Regions from separate parts of the Homo sapiens genome. Here all the other regions are linked to region 2. The links are contacts of gene promoters, found by promoter capture Hi-C in blood cells and fetal thymus (Javierre and others, 2016). All regions are on one chromosome and are shown on one strand. The core of a region is centred on a gene start or on the middle of the fragment in contact, and the rest is flanking DNA. Distances in the headings are between cores, read along the strand shown. Region 1 holds the start of LAMP1 (lysosomal associated membrane protein 1). Region 2 holds the start of MCF2L (MCF.2 cell line derived transforming sequence like). Region 3 holds the start of GRTP1 (growth hormone regulated TBC protein 1).

Region 1 (4,790 bases), core at 142-2,641, 330 kb after region 2:
GTCTTCCAAGGAAGTCCTTGATGTGAGCAGATCCTTAGGCAGCAGATGCAGGGTGCTAAGCACAAGTGACAGCAAGGTGGGGTCTATCAAAATGCCAGTGTTGAATTGGTCAAATCCCGCCCTTTTTAAGGTCACAGTCCTCTGGTGAGGACTGATAGTGAGTGCCTGGTCCTGTCTTTATCTGGCTGAGTGCTGTCTCTATTAACTAGGTGCACATCCAGTCCCCGTTGCTATGATGCCTTTTGAAATGTAAGATTAAATCTTTTTCTAAGATGTAGGTACTTATGCGACGGGTGCTTTATACAAAGCAGTAGCGTAGGGGCCTTAATTAAATAGTATTTTAACAAAAGGCCATAAATCCTATATGATGACAAGCCAAAAAACAGAGCATCTTCAGACTTCTAAAATGCAGGAGCCAGGCGCCGTGGCTCAGGGCTGTAATCTCAGCACTTTGGGAGGCCGAGGCGGGTGGATTGCTTGAGGTCAGGAGTTCGAGACCAGCCTGGCCAACTGGTGAAACCCCGTCTCTACTCAACATACAAAATCAGCCGGGCGTGGTGGCGCACGCCTGTAATCCCAGCTACTTGGGAGGCTGAGGCAAGAGAATCGCTTGAACCCGGGAGGCGGAGGTTACAGCGAGCCGAGATCGCGCCACTGCACTCCAGCCTGGGCGACAGAGCGAGACTCCGTCTCAAAAAAAAAAACAAAGTGCTCGACAGGAACTTTCTGTAAGCCAAAGAGTATCGCCATCGCACCTTCACCTTCACCTTGGGCAGCCTGGTGCCGTCTTCCCTCAGCCCGCGATTAACGAGCGGAAGGCCGCACTGACCCATTTCAGATCCCTTATTTCCTTCCTAAAACCACTCAAGAGTTTGGGCACAGTGGCCTCCCTGTGTGAGGAACTTGCTTCCCACTCACCAAAAGACAAACCCTTCGCCCATCCCTGGCCGCGCACCCGGCCGGTCACCCGCGCTGCCACCCACACCACCCTCCTGTCCATAAAGAGCCCGCGTTTGGGACGCCTCGCAGGCTGAAGGGAGGCCTGGGCGTCCGCGATCCGTCTGCCCTTTCTCCCCTCGCGGGCTTCCTCTTTCCTCACTTTCTCCCGCCACTACTCTTCCTCTTCCTTTTCCGCGAACCCAGCCCACTTCCCGTTTCAGGACCTCGGCTCGGCCCCAGTCCCCCGGACCAGGCCGGGTCACGTGGGTCCAGGGTCACGTGCCGCTGCGGGTCACGTGCCGCTGCGGGTCACGTGTCGGCCTGCATCACGCGTGAGGGGGCGCGCGGTGCTGGAAGCTGCCGCACCTGCGGGGAGCCGAGCCGCCGGCGCTCGACGCGCGCGCTCTCGCGAGACCCGCGGGATCACGTGACGCCCGGGCGCGGCGCAGCTCACGTGACAAGCGCTGCCGGCCGCGGTGTCTTCTTCGTGCCGGCGTCGCAGTGGCCGGGCCTCTTGCGTCTGGTAACGCCGCTGTCTCTAACGCCAGCCCTTGGCGCCCGCGCCCCGCCACCGCAGCGCCCGGCAGTCCGCGGCCCAACCGCCGCCCGCGCCCCCGCTCCCCGCACCGTACCCGGCCGCCTCGCGCCATGGCGGCCCCCGGCAGCGCCCGGCGACCCCTGCTGCTGCTACTGCTGTTGCTGCTGCTCGGTGAGGGGGTCGAGGCGGGGCCTGGGAGCGGCGGGACCGGGCGGAGCCGAGGTCCCTGGGTCTTGAGGGCGGGGGACTGCCGGGTCGTTGTCCCGCGGGTCGCCCCGCACCCACTGCTCCTGGTCCCGGCCGGCTCTGCCCGCGGGCGGGTGTTTCTCTCGGGGTCGTAGGGTCGGAGCGGAGCTCAATGGCAGGTGCTTGGGGGACCAGGAGGTCTCATCCCAGGACCTGGCTCCTCTAAGGTCTGTCTCACTGAACTCAGTTTTTCTGTGGTGGTGAGTGCGAAAGGGAACTTCCGATGGCTTGCTCGGCGGTCTGGTGCTTTCAGGTCGTTAAGTTTCCTGGCAAGTTGAGGCGGTGAGATCTAGACGAGGCTGCGCCGCCGAAGGTGGCAGGGACGTCTGTGGTCTCAGCTCCCGGGTGGGTGACCTAGATCAAGCTCTTCCCAACATGGATTTCACCCAGGACAGGGAGAAGCCGGTGCGAGCATTCCCCACCTTTGTACTTGAACCTTTCTCCTCTTTCAGCGGTGTGGAGGAGATGCGAGTGTATTTATGTTATTGTGAATTCACATGTATGTTAAAATAATTTTTAAAGTTATCTTTGGGATTTCACAAGATTCCGTAGTAGACAAGATGAGGGAAAGCTGGCCTCAGACTCACGGTGGCAATGTTCATGTCTAGTAAGTAGTTTAAAGAGCGCCGTTCCTGTAGGCCGAAATGCGGGACCAGGGAACACGTGGGGAAGCACCCTTCTCTTCTGTCAGTTTATAGAGCTCAGATGGGCAGTAGGTGCTCAATATTGTATTGACTAGTGAATTTCGTTCTCATTTATTGTCTTAATAAGAGGATGTGTGCTGTCTCTTTAAGACAGTCCGGATTGCCCCCCGCCAACACTATTCTTTCACCTCCTCCCCCCGCCGCCCTCCCCCGTAATATGAGAAGATTATCTTAAATGCCAGGATCTGAAAGGTGATGTAGAATCAAGCTGGGGGAGTGTGTGTGAGTTAAGTAGATATAGAAATACACTCCTGTACACATCTGCCTTGACTTCTTTAAATCCCTCAGTCCCATCCAGCTGTAAAACTCTGTTACTGTGAGTGAATGGATCTTGGCTTCCCTTTTTTGTTTTGCCTGTTGTGTAAAATGAATTCTTTGAACTGCCTGAATAGCCACAGAGATGAACTTATTCCAATAGTAAGCCTGAAGCCTTGCTCAGCTCCTGCGACAGGGTCAGGTGTAGTTAATGAAAGGAGTTGCAGAAACAAGTTTTGTCATGTCACAGCAACTGCATTGTTCTTTGTTACAGATGCTCACAAGCCTCATAACTTTGATGTTTTGTTTCATGTTTTAAAAACTCACTTCAGGCCGGGAGCAGTGGCTCACGCCTTTAATCCCAACACTTTGGGTGGCCGAGGCAGATGGATCATGGCGTCAGGAGTTCGAGACCAGCCTGGCCAATATGGCGAAACCCGGTCTCTACAAAAATACAAAAATTAGCTGGGCATGGTGGCGCACGCCTGTAATCCCAGCTACTTGGTAGGCTGAGGCAGAAGAATTGCTTGAACCCGGGAAGCAGAGGTTGCAGTGAGCTGAGATCAAGCCACTGCACTCCAGCCTGGGCAACTGAGGGAGACTCCGTCTCAAAACAAAAAAAAAATTAACTTTAAAAATGAAGAGAAAAAATCCATAACTCCCTAATATTGTGATTGGAATATTGCTTGTGTAATCAGTCTTCTAAGATCTGTTCCATTATATCTTTTATGTTTACAATCTTAACTTTTTTTTTTTGAGGCGGAGTTGCTCTGTGCCCAGGCTGGAGTGCAGTGGCACAACCTCGGCTCACTACAACTTCTGCCTCCTGGGTTCGAGCAATTCTTCTGCCTCAGCTTCCTGAGTAGCTGGGATTACAGGCACCCGCCACTATGCTAGGCTAATTTATGTATTTTTGGTAGAGACTAGGTTTAACTATGTTGGTTAGACTGGTCTCGATCTCCCGACCTCGTGATCCGCCTCCCTCTGCCTCCCAAAGTGCTGGGAGTACGGGTTTGAGCCACCGTACTTGGCCCAAGAATTTTTTTTTTTTTTTTTTGAGGCAGAGTCTCACTCTGTCACCCAGGCTGGAGTGCAGTGGCGTGATCTCCGTTCACTGCAGCCTCCGCCTCTTGTGTTCAAGCAGTTCTCCTGCCTCAGCCTCCCTAGTAGCTGGGACTACAGGTGCGCGCCACCATGCCTGGCTAATTTTTGTAGTTTTAGTAGAGATGGGGTTTCACCATGCTGGCCAGGCTGGTCTCGAACTGACCTCGTGATCCACCTGCCTCAGACTCCCAAAGTGCTGGGATTACAGCCATGAGCCACCGTGCCTAGCCAAAATCCAACTTTTAAAAAAGGCCTTTTAACAACTTGCATTTAAAGATATTTAAAATGTTTATTTTAATGTGCGATTTCACCAAAAATCCTTTTTTCTTAAAAAAAGAAACTGCTCAATTACAAATTTCCACTATATTAATAATTAGGCATTGTTTAAAGCTACTGTGTTTGAATACTTAGAAAGCTCAAACATGAACTGAAACTTGTCCTGATAGATAGGATTAGCTGTGATTGCGTAATGTGACCCTTTAAACCATTGATGTCAGCAGGATGACCGCCTTACCCTTTCCACTTGAACAACTGTCACTTAGGAGGTTTGAACAATTTTATACTCGGCTGGGTGCAGTGGTTCACGCCTGTAATCTCAGCACTTTGGGAGGCCCAGGTGGGCGGATCAGCTGAAGTCAGGGGTTTGAGACCAGCCTGGCCAATGTGGTGAAACCCCGTCTCTACTAAGAATACAAAAATTAGCCAGGCGTGGTGTGGTGGCAGGCGCCTGTAATTCCAGCTACGTGGGAGGCTGAGGCAGGAGAATTGCTTGAACCTGGGAGGCAGGGGTTGCAGGGAGCTGAGATCGTGCCATTGCACTCCAGCCTGGGCAACAAAATCGAAACTCAATGTCAAAAAAAAAAAAAAAAAAAGAAAAAGAAAAGAAAGAAAAGCTGGGTGTGGTGGCTCATGCCTGTAATCCCAGCACTTTGGGAGGCTGAGGCAGGCCGATCACTAGGTCAAGAGATCGAGACCATCCTGGCCACAACATGGTGAAACTCCAT
Region 2 (4,480 bases), core at 1-2,500:
GTGAGCCCCGGGGCTCCCCGACGACCGCGGCGGTGACACGCGGGGCTCCCAGGTGACCCCGGCGGTGCACTCACAGGACTCCCAGGTGACCCGCGGTGGTGACACACCGGGGCGGGCGCGCGCCGCTTCCGCTTCCGCCGAGCCGCCCCCCGCCCCCCGCGGCGCAGCGCGCGCCCCCCTCCCGGTGGCGCGGAACCAATCCTGGGCAGGGAGGCGGCGGCTGGAGGCTGAAAGCGCTGCCGTGGCCCCCTCCCCGCCTCCGCCGCGCCCCCTCCGCACTCGCACGGCCCCACCCGCAGGCGCCCCCCGTGCGGAGGAAGCGGATCTGCCAGGATCATTTTTGTTGTGTCGGAGGATGAGGTTTTGGCTGAGGACTGAAGAGATGGCCTTGGAAGAAATGGTGCAGAGATTAAATGCGGTTTCCAAGCACACGGGTAGGAGGAGCTGCTGGCCGTCAGTGATCTGTGCTTAAGCTTGACATCATGGGCTGAAATGTGGGGAAATGCGTCTGATTTTTGTAAGCCGCCCTCGTGTTCCTTTCTAGCCGTGGTAGCTGTGACATGGGGGGCACTGGTTGGCAGCTGGTGTGTTTTCAGAGGCTGTCGGCGATCGTATGCTGCCCGGGATAGTCAAAATGACTGCACGTTGGTGACACTGGCTCTCTCAGGGTTGCTGGGTCTGCATGCGGAGCCATTTGTGTGTCTGAAGTCTGCCCATCAACCTGCCTGTCCGCAGCCCTCGCAATGGAGAATGCATTGCGAATGGAGAATGATCTGAGCCAAGGGCTTTCAGAGCTTGGGGTTTCAGAGCCAGGGGTAGGGATGGTGAAGCTACCTGGAAGCTCGTTTTGAGGATGAAAAAACCTGGACTAATCAGGTGGTTCTTTTCTTCATTAAATGCAATTTAAACCTAAGACAGATGTTTGAGACGGTATGGGTAAAGAGTGGACTGGACGTTCATTTTCAGTATTAATCGAAATATTACTTCAAATAAGCTTTGAAGAGTAGTTCAGATCGATTCTTTTAGGTGTAAGCAGAGACTGGGCTGACAGCTTGCATCTGGCCGTGGCTTTCAGGCGGTCGCATCTGAGTTCTCAGGCTGTGTTATGCAGAAGGGAGAGGCATCCTTAACTCGTTTTCCTTGAAATGAAGAGGAAATAATGATATATCATTAAAAGTAAGTTGCCAAGTGTTTTGCCTGATGTTGCCATATGTTATGTCATATATGCCATTACTAGTTGTCTAACTAGTACTTGCCTGGGAGATTAAAATGTCAGTTGCTTGGTTTGGGTGTGGTTCTCTTTCTCTGCCCACCCCGATGGATTCTGAGAGTGAACCAGTGATTAAATCAGCATAAGCACCATCGTATGGGATGGTCTAATCAAGATGTTTTTAATGGGGGCTTTTATGATCAAAGCTGCTGGGTTTATTGTATGTGGGTCGAAAGAAAACAAAACCATTTTCATGCCGTCTGCTCCCTGATTCTTAGAGAATCAGCTCTTTTTCTGAAGCTTGAGTGGAGCTTTTCCGTGCAGGGTTTGCAGGGTTTGAGTATGGTGAAGGGCTGCGTGGATGCCAGGTTCACAGGGAGGCTTCCGATCGGCTGTGGGGGTGGAGGAGAAAGCCCCCCTTGCTCTGCATGCCTCTGCGTGCCGTTCGGTGTCAGAGTCACAGAGTGGGAACCGCTCCAGAGGCTGATGTCATTCCCCAGGTTTTTAGGGATTGGGGTTTCTTCATGAGCTCCAAGAGACATGTGCGCATTTTTAATTGGAAAAAGGCTATCTCAGAAGAGCAGCAGTGACACTGTCTGCTCACTGAATGTCGTGCGAGCCGGGCGCTCGGTGTGGGCCATCGTCTCATCTGGAACAGGCAGTGAGATGTGCGTCCTCCCACACATCTGCATTACCGATAATTGCATGCTTCACCAGGACTTTCAAGTCCAGCTTACCAGATATCCTCGGTTATGAGCACCCTGTAGCGTTTAGTTAGGGGAGGTGACCCTGCATCATACTCCACTTACCACCCATTAACACTGGCCTCTTCCTTCAGCACAAACCCATTTTCTGCTCACGCTGTGTGAGGTACTGCTCAGCGGAGGCAAGTTATTAGGTTGAAGGCTGTAAAACCATCATGAGGGGGTTTATGATGCAGTATTGACATGATGCTACCACAGAGTGTACGGGTATGTGGTGCACATTCTCTGGTAGGGGTGAAGGTCAAGGTAAACCTGATCCCCACCTCGGGTTTAAATTCCAAGCACTTCCTCAGGAGAGTTCCCCACCTGCAGCCAAACACTCTTCAGCGGGAGGTCATGGAGCTGCTTCTCCTTCTGGGGTCATGCTAGGATCCGTGCCAGGTAAAAGCTGATGGCAACAGGACACTGATGTGGCGGCTGGTGTAGGTCCTCAGGGCAGTGGCGGGGCTAGGTCACAGCTGAGGGATTGCGTACAGCGGCTGGCCTTAGAGCAGCTGCCTCATTCAGCTGTGCAGAGCTTCACCCTCTGTAGATTCACCCCCAACCCACAGGCATTTTATCTTTGCTGCTGTCCAGGACATGCTGCTGTGTTTTAATTTCAGATTTATGCATTTCTTCTGTCACCTAGAACCTTCATTAGCTAGGCTAATCTGCATGTAAAGGAGGATAATGTGTGCTGTCCATATGGTCTGTGAATCTGTAGCCTTTGACCTTGAGAATTGACATTTTATATACTTTTCTGAACCTGATCTTCAGTAACAAGGCCAGGGGCACTTTCCAGTGGCAACTTCCCCCTGGCCCCCCTTCTATGTGATAGGGCTCATTTTCGTCTGTTTTGGTTTTCTCTTTGGAATTTTAGTCATTGGTGAAAAGGTAGAAGACATTCGAGGGAGCAATGCTATGGATCTAGTTGATTTAAGCATTCGATGAAACAGAACAGTGGTCCTCCAACTACAGCATGTACATGCGTCACCTTGGGGGCTTGTTAAAGCACAGGCTGCTGGGCCCACCCTCAGAGTTTCTGATTCAGGAAGTCTGGGGTAGGGTCTGATAATTGACATTTCTTAAGTTCTTGATGAAGTTCTTCAGGAATCAAACTTGGGGAACTACTGTGGTAGAAGAATCTTTAAATCTAGCCCCACCTTTTCCATTAGTTGACCTAATACTAACTCTTGTCATAGACAGATGATGATAGATGGATAATGCATGGATAAATGAGTGGATGGATGGATGAATGGGTAGATGGGTGGGTGGGTGGATGGATGGGTGGGTGGATGAATGTAGGGGTGGATGAATGGATGTGTGGGTGGGTGGATGGATGGATGGATGGATGATGATGGATGGATGGATGTGTAAGTGGGTGGATGGATGGATGGATGGATGGATGGATGGATAAATGAGTTAGTAGATAGTGGATAAGTGGGTGGATGGATGGGTGGGTGGATGAATGTAAGGGTGGATGAGTGGGTGTGTGGGTGGATGGATGGATGGATGATGATGGATGGATGGATGTGTGAGTGGATGGATGGATGTGTGGGTGGATGGATGGATAAATAGATAAATGGAGGATGATGAATGGGTAGATGGATGGATGAGTGGATGCTTGGACGGATGAGTGGATGGATGGATGGATGAATGAGTTGGTAGATAGATGGATGAGTGGATATATGTATGTAAGGTAGATGGAGGGGTAGGTGGATGGGTGTATGGATGGATGGATGACTGGATGACTGGATAGATGAATGGGTGGGTGGATGGATGGAGGGAGGGAGGGATGGATGCATAGATGAGTGGATGCATGGAGTGGAGGAGTGGATGGATGGATGGAAGGTGGATGGATGGATGAATGGATGGATGGATGGATGAGCAAAAGCTGTGTGCTGCCTCCTGTCCTTAAGCTCTTCCTGGGAAGGGCCTGTGGCCTGAGCAATGGGCTGAGGGACACAGCAGCACGGAGGGGCTTTGGGGGATGAGGGGGCTTCCCAGGACCACCACACAGGCACAGCTGTTCGGCACCCCCCAGTTGCAGGTCTCAGAGGAAAAGCTCTGGGGGGACGCGCCCAGGAGGCAGGGGCACGCATTTCTGTGTGGAATTGAAGAGCTCTCAGTGGAGTAGGTGCGGCTCCCTGGCAAAATGCCACCTGCTTATTAGCCAGCCCAGCGGTTTCTGACGGACGCCTTAGCACTCCCCTCTCACGCCTCTGCCTTCGGCCTCAGTGATTGGCGTCTCCTCAAGGAGCCATGATTTCTTTGTCCATTTTTTAAATGTGCTGAGGCCCTTTAGGAGAAAAACCACGCAGCCAAATGAGGTACGTCTGTGTGGGTTGCTGACTATTTTGTAACATGAAATTTAGGTCTCTAATTAGATAGGTGTGACTATAAAGTACAGAAACATTTAAAAAACAATTAGCTTTCATGGGATGTTGTTATGGATCTTGTTAGTAGGGATTCCGGAGCAGGTTTTAGAGATTTGAGCGGAGGGAGGCTTGTGAGGAAACCGTGAGTC
Region 3 (4,624 bases), core at 1,354-3,853, 390 kb after region 2:
CAAAAATTTATGCACAACCATACATCTTTCAGATTCTCCGCTGTAACCAACCTCCAGGTCACAGCCACAGGACTTCCCACGGACTTCCCCTGCTCTTAAAGCAAACTGCAGAACCAAGCGTGGACTTCTGCTCCTGAGGGGGACGGAAGGACAGTCCCCTGCGGTCATCTCTATAGGAGATGGGGGCCATGGGTGGGAGAGAAACTCCCTGTTGCACTTTGTAGCCCTCAGTATGATTAAAGTGTTTACCATGTACATAAATTATGCTTTTTAAGTTCACATGTCTTATATACTTTTACGTTACTTTTTAAAATTAAAAGACAGTTAACTTTTAAGAATAAATCAGGCGCAGTGGCTCATGCCTGTAATCCCAGCATTTTGGGAGGCCAACGTGGGCAGATCCCTTGAGGTCAGGAGTTTGAGACCAGCCTGGCCAATATGGTAAAACCCATCTCTACTAAAAAATAGAAAAATTAGCCTGGCGTGGTGGTAGGTGCCTGTAATCCCAGCTACTTGGGAGGCTGAGGCAGGAAAATCGCTTGAACCCAGGAGGCAGAGGTTGCAATGAGCTGAAATCATGCCACTGCACTCTAGCCTGGGCGACAGAGTGAGACTCCGTCTCAAAATAAAAAAAATAAGAAAATAAAAAATAAATTAGCCAGGTGTAGTGGTGTGCACCTGTAATCCCAGCTACTCAGGAGGCTGAGGCAGGAGAATCACTTGAACCCAGGAGGTGGAGGTTGCAGTCAGCTGAGATCGCACCACTGCACTCCAGCCTGGGCGACAGAGTGAGACTCTGTCTCAAAAATAAATAAATCAAAAAGAATAAATGAAAAGGAAAAATAAAGACACACGTTCCACTGGAAACATGTGAACATGCAGAGGCCACAGGGATGGGACATGATGCATTCGTGGGAAGCATATAGGATATTAACTTCCATCTCTATAAAAAATTTAAAAATTAGCCAGGAGTGGTGGCCACACCAGTGGTCCCAGCTATGCGGGAGGCTGAGAGGGGAGGATGGCTGGAGCCCAGGAGGTCAAGGCTACAGTGAGTGGTGATTGTGCCACTGCACTCAGAGGGATACCCTGTCTCAAATAAATAAATAAAAGCAAAAGTTGATCTTGTCACCCCCTGCCTGGAAAACCTTTAACAGTTGGCTTCTCTGTGCCTGGCCGTGGTCACCACACACCTCCGACCCTCCGCCCAGGTGCAGGGCCCCTGGTTTCATCTCTGTCCTTCCCCACCAGGTCCCTACTGCTCGGTCCCTGGAAGCCCAGCTGCCATTCACATCCCCCTTCTCAGGAAGCCCCCAGGACTCCCCTTTGACCCCACTTCTCTGAGTTCCTAGCTCCAGGGCACACTCCCACCAAGCCCTCACCCCAGGCAGACACTTCATTCATTCACTGAACACACAGGGAAGTCGCCTGGCACTGCCCCAGGTTCTGAGGACTGAGCAGTGAATGAAAAATCCGTTGCAGGGAGGAAGGGTTTTTGACTCCAGCAGGGGCTGTGCTGGGAAAGGCAGAAATGAGGAGGTGCCCTCCGCACAGGGAAGCCTGGGGCGCCCCGGAGGAGGGGGCCCTGCAGCTAACCCCGAGGCGGGCGGGCGGTCAGGCCGGTGCTCACCGCAGCAGTAGGAGGCCTGGGGTCGCGGAGGAGCGGCAGGTCGAGCAGGGCCCTGTGGGTCCCGTCACAAGGACGGAGTCTCGCTCTGTCGCCCAGGCTGGAGTGCAATGGCGCAATCTCGGCTCACTGCAACCTCCGCCTACTGGGTTCAAGCGATTCTCCTGCCTCAGCCTCCAGAGTAGCTGGGACTACAGGCAGGAGCCACCACGCCCGGCTAATTTTGTATTTTTAGTAGAGACGGGGTTTCACCATGTTGGTCAGGCTGGTCTCAAACTCCTGACCTCGTGATCCGCCCGCCTCGGCCTCCCAAAGCGCTGGGATTACAGGCGTGAGCCACCGCGCCCGGCATGGATCGAGTTTTGATCCATCCCGATATGGCTCCCTGCTGGGAGGGACGGGTCTCCTTCGCGTCCGACCCGCCGGCCCATCTCAAAGCGGGAAAACCGGTCCCTGCGGCTGCCCTAGCTCGGAGCCCGCAGCTTCGTCCCGACCTGCCCGGAAAGGTTCCTCCCCCTCCCTCCGCTCCGGGAGCCCGGACTTTGCCCGGCCCGTCCCAGCCCAACCCACCTGCGCCCTCGGGACCCACCTGCGCCCCCGGGACCCACCTGTCCGGCTCCTGGGGACGCCCCCGCCCTGCAGCAGCCGGGACCATTTGATCGCCCTGCGGGTGAGCGTGACCAGGTAGCTGGAGAAAAACTTCTCGTAGGCGGCGTCGTCGAAGTCCTCAGGCCGCTCGAATCCGTACGGGTCGATCCTGCAAAACCGAGAGAAGGAGGCCGGCGTCCCCGAAGTTTCCTCTGGGGGGTCGCGGGCCCGCGCGGGGACCGCAGCCGCCGGGGACGCCCGCACCCCGCGCCACACACCTGGGGACCCGCGAGCGCTCGGCGGGCTGCATGCGGGGAGGGAGGCGCGCACCGAGCGAGGCCAGCGGGTCCCAAGTTCGCCTCCCGGCTCCGGGGCGCTTAAGTCCTTCCGGCGGGACCGCGGGCGCGTGGGGGCGGGGCGGGGAGCGGAGAGGGGCGGGGCTGGAGGCGGGGGCGGGGGGGGGCAGGGCGGGGGGAGGGGCGGCTGGGGGCGGGGAGGACTTGGGGAGAGAGGAGGGGCAGGAGCGGGGGAGGGGCAGGGGAGCACCCAGGGCGGGGGAGGGGCGGGGCTGGGGGCGGGAGGACCTGGGGAGAGAGGAGGGGCAGGAGCGGGTGAGGGGCGGGGGAGGGCCGGGGGAGGGGCAGGGGAGCACCCAGGGCGGGGGAGGGGCGGGGCTGGGGGGGCGGGAGGACTTGGGGAGAGAGGAGGGTGGGGGCGGGGCGGGGCCTGCTCCCGGGGCTTCCGAGGCCGCGGCGTCCCGCGGGCAGAATCGGGGGCGCCTCCCGCAGAACCCCCGCGGCCTGGACCCGGGTGAGAGGAGCTTCTTCTGCGATTCCTTCAAACCTCAGTGCCTGGCCGACCCGACTCTGACACCTGACTCCTATTTTTATTTTATTTTTTATTTTCTCCGCTGCATTTCAAGGCCGAGACCAACACACAAATGAGAAGCCCCCAGGGGCGCCCGCCCGTTCCTGCCCCCCCAAACCAGGGACCGGGGTCCCCCCACCGGCGAGCCAGGCCTGGGAGAATCCGGGGCAGCTCTGGTTCCGAACGGCTTCTTCTCGGTCCGCATCCAATGACATTGTCCTGAGATTTCAGCTGCTTTTCGTGTCCGGGAGGCCCCGGAAATTTGCCAGAACTGCAGATTTTGAATTTTGCTCTGGCGACGTGGCAAAGGGGAGCCCCCAGACGTGAGGCGCTGGGGCGACCTCGCCCTGGGTCCCCCAGGGGTCTGGAGCGGGGGCTCCTCCGACAGGCCTCTCCCCGCCTGTAATTTAGGCCCAGGGCGACCTGGACAGGCCCCAGGAGGAGGCCGTCCCCGGACTCCAGACGCACTTTCCTGTGAGAAGCAGCCCGGCCTCGTCTGGGTGAGGCGAGGATCACAGGCTCAGCGTCCCCTGCGCGTCCGTCAGGGCCTTTCGGAACCAACTTGGGACCTTCCCATGGGTGTTTCCGGAATGTTCCATGCGAGCGCCACCCAGGAGCCTGGTCAGCAGCGTGTGGAACGGACCGGTCCCTAAGTGCGGACTCCCGCCTCTGCCTTTCACCCTTCTCCAGCCCTTGCAAGACCGGGGGGCGGGGTGGGGGTCAGTGCCCAGCGGAGCAGAGCCCCCGACACGGTTCCTCCCGTTCCTAGTCTGCTGGTTCTGGGAACTCCCCAAGCTTTCAGCCCAGCTCCTCAGCACTGGCCTTTGGTAACACGCGGCGTCCCTCATTTGAAAGATCACACAGCCCCCACTCTACGGTCTGACCTCCTTGGGATGTTTAGACCCAAGCCAGGAGACAGGGCCATAGCCTCCTGCCCCTCGGCCTACGGGTGCCCCACAGTCCAGGACTGACAGGTGGGCGTCCGTCCCCAGGGTCTTCGAACCCCGTCTGGGCTCCTCTCTGCCTAAGTCAGTGACTCCCTGAACCCCTCTCGGGCTCTAACTGACGCCCGAATTTCCTATATCGCATCCCTCGCGCTTTCTGGAGCAACAGACACAGTCCTGCTCCCCACTTCCCAGCACCCGGGGTCCTGCGCCCAAATCGCCCCACACCGCGCAGCTTCTGTTCCAACCCCAGGCCTGGAAGCCTCACGGCTCCCCTTTTCCCTAATTCCTGCCTTCTGGCCATGGAGATGGGGTTCTAACCTCCCTTTCCCACCACTGCCGTGGAAAGCAGCGTGGCAGGCAGCACGGACCAGGGGCCGCCAGCTCCCGAGCCTGAGTGTGATGGCGGGACTGCCACCAAGTGTATTTTTGGGCCAGATGTAGGGAGACTGTGGGGGAGCAGGTCAGATAAGAGCGGTGCCCTCCAGGAAGAGTGGAGAGGAGAGATACAGAGAGGCCAGAGCCCCAGGCTCTGTGCAGGGTGGGCAGCCAGACCGAGGCAGCTAGAAAGGTCTCCCGCTCCAGCCCAGGCCTGGCC

Evidence for each region. The method cuts DNA at HindIII sites, captures the fragments that hold promoters and counts their contacts. A CHiCAGO score of 5 or more calls a contact.
Region 1: the fragment with the promoter of LAMP1 here is called in contact with a fragment that was not itself captured in region 2 in 1 of 17 cell types (naive CD8 T cells); the score reaches 6.0 in naive CD8 T cells.
Region 3: a contact is called between the fragment with the promoter of GRTP1 here and a fragment that was not itself captured in region 2, in 1 of 17 cell types (M1 macrophages). The highest score is 5.4, in M1 macrophages.

Annotation. Positions count from the first base shown.
Region 1 is chr13:113,295,848-113,300,637 of GRCh38, forward strand. LAMP1 (lysosomal associated membrane protein 1) reads left to right here and starts at 1,392. Exons shown (of 9, transcript NM_005561.4): 1 at 1,392-1,648. The coding sequence starts at 1,588. RefSeq lists silencers at 1,523-1,802, 4,107-4,401, 4,274-4,353 and an enhancer at 2,033-2,212. The HindIII fragment of the contact is 11,770 bases long and covers 1-4,790 here.
Region 2 is chr13:112,969,025-112,973,504 of GRCh38, forward strand. It overlaps MCF2L (MCF.2 cell line derived transforming sequence like), which reads left to right and starts at 190. Exons shown (of 30, transcript NM_001112732.3): 1 at 190-434. The coding sequence starts at 356. RefSeq lists a silencer at 66-125. The HindIII fragment of the contact is 516 bases long and covers 993-1,508 here.
Region 3 is chr13:113,361,527-113,366,150 of GRCh38, forward strand. It overlaps GRTP1 (growth hormone regulated TBC protein 1), which reads right to left and starts at 2,604. Exons shown (of 8, transcript NM_024719.4): 1 at 2,494-2,604; 2 at 2,236-2,384. The coding sequence starts at 2,525. It overlaps GRTP1-AS1 (GRTP1 antisense RNA 1), which reads left to right. Exons shown (of 2, transcript NR_120385.1): 2 at 33-342. RefSeq lists a silencer at 2,188-2,482 and enhancers at 3,470-4,163, 4,164-4,624. The HindIII fragment of the contact is 5,619 bases long and covers 1-3,875 here.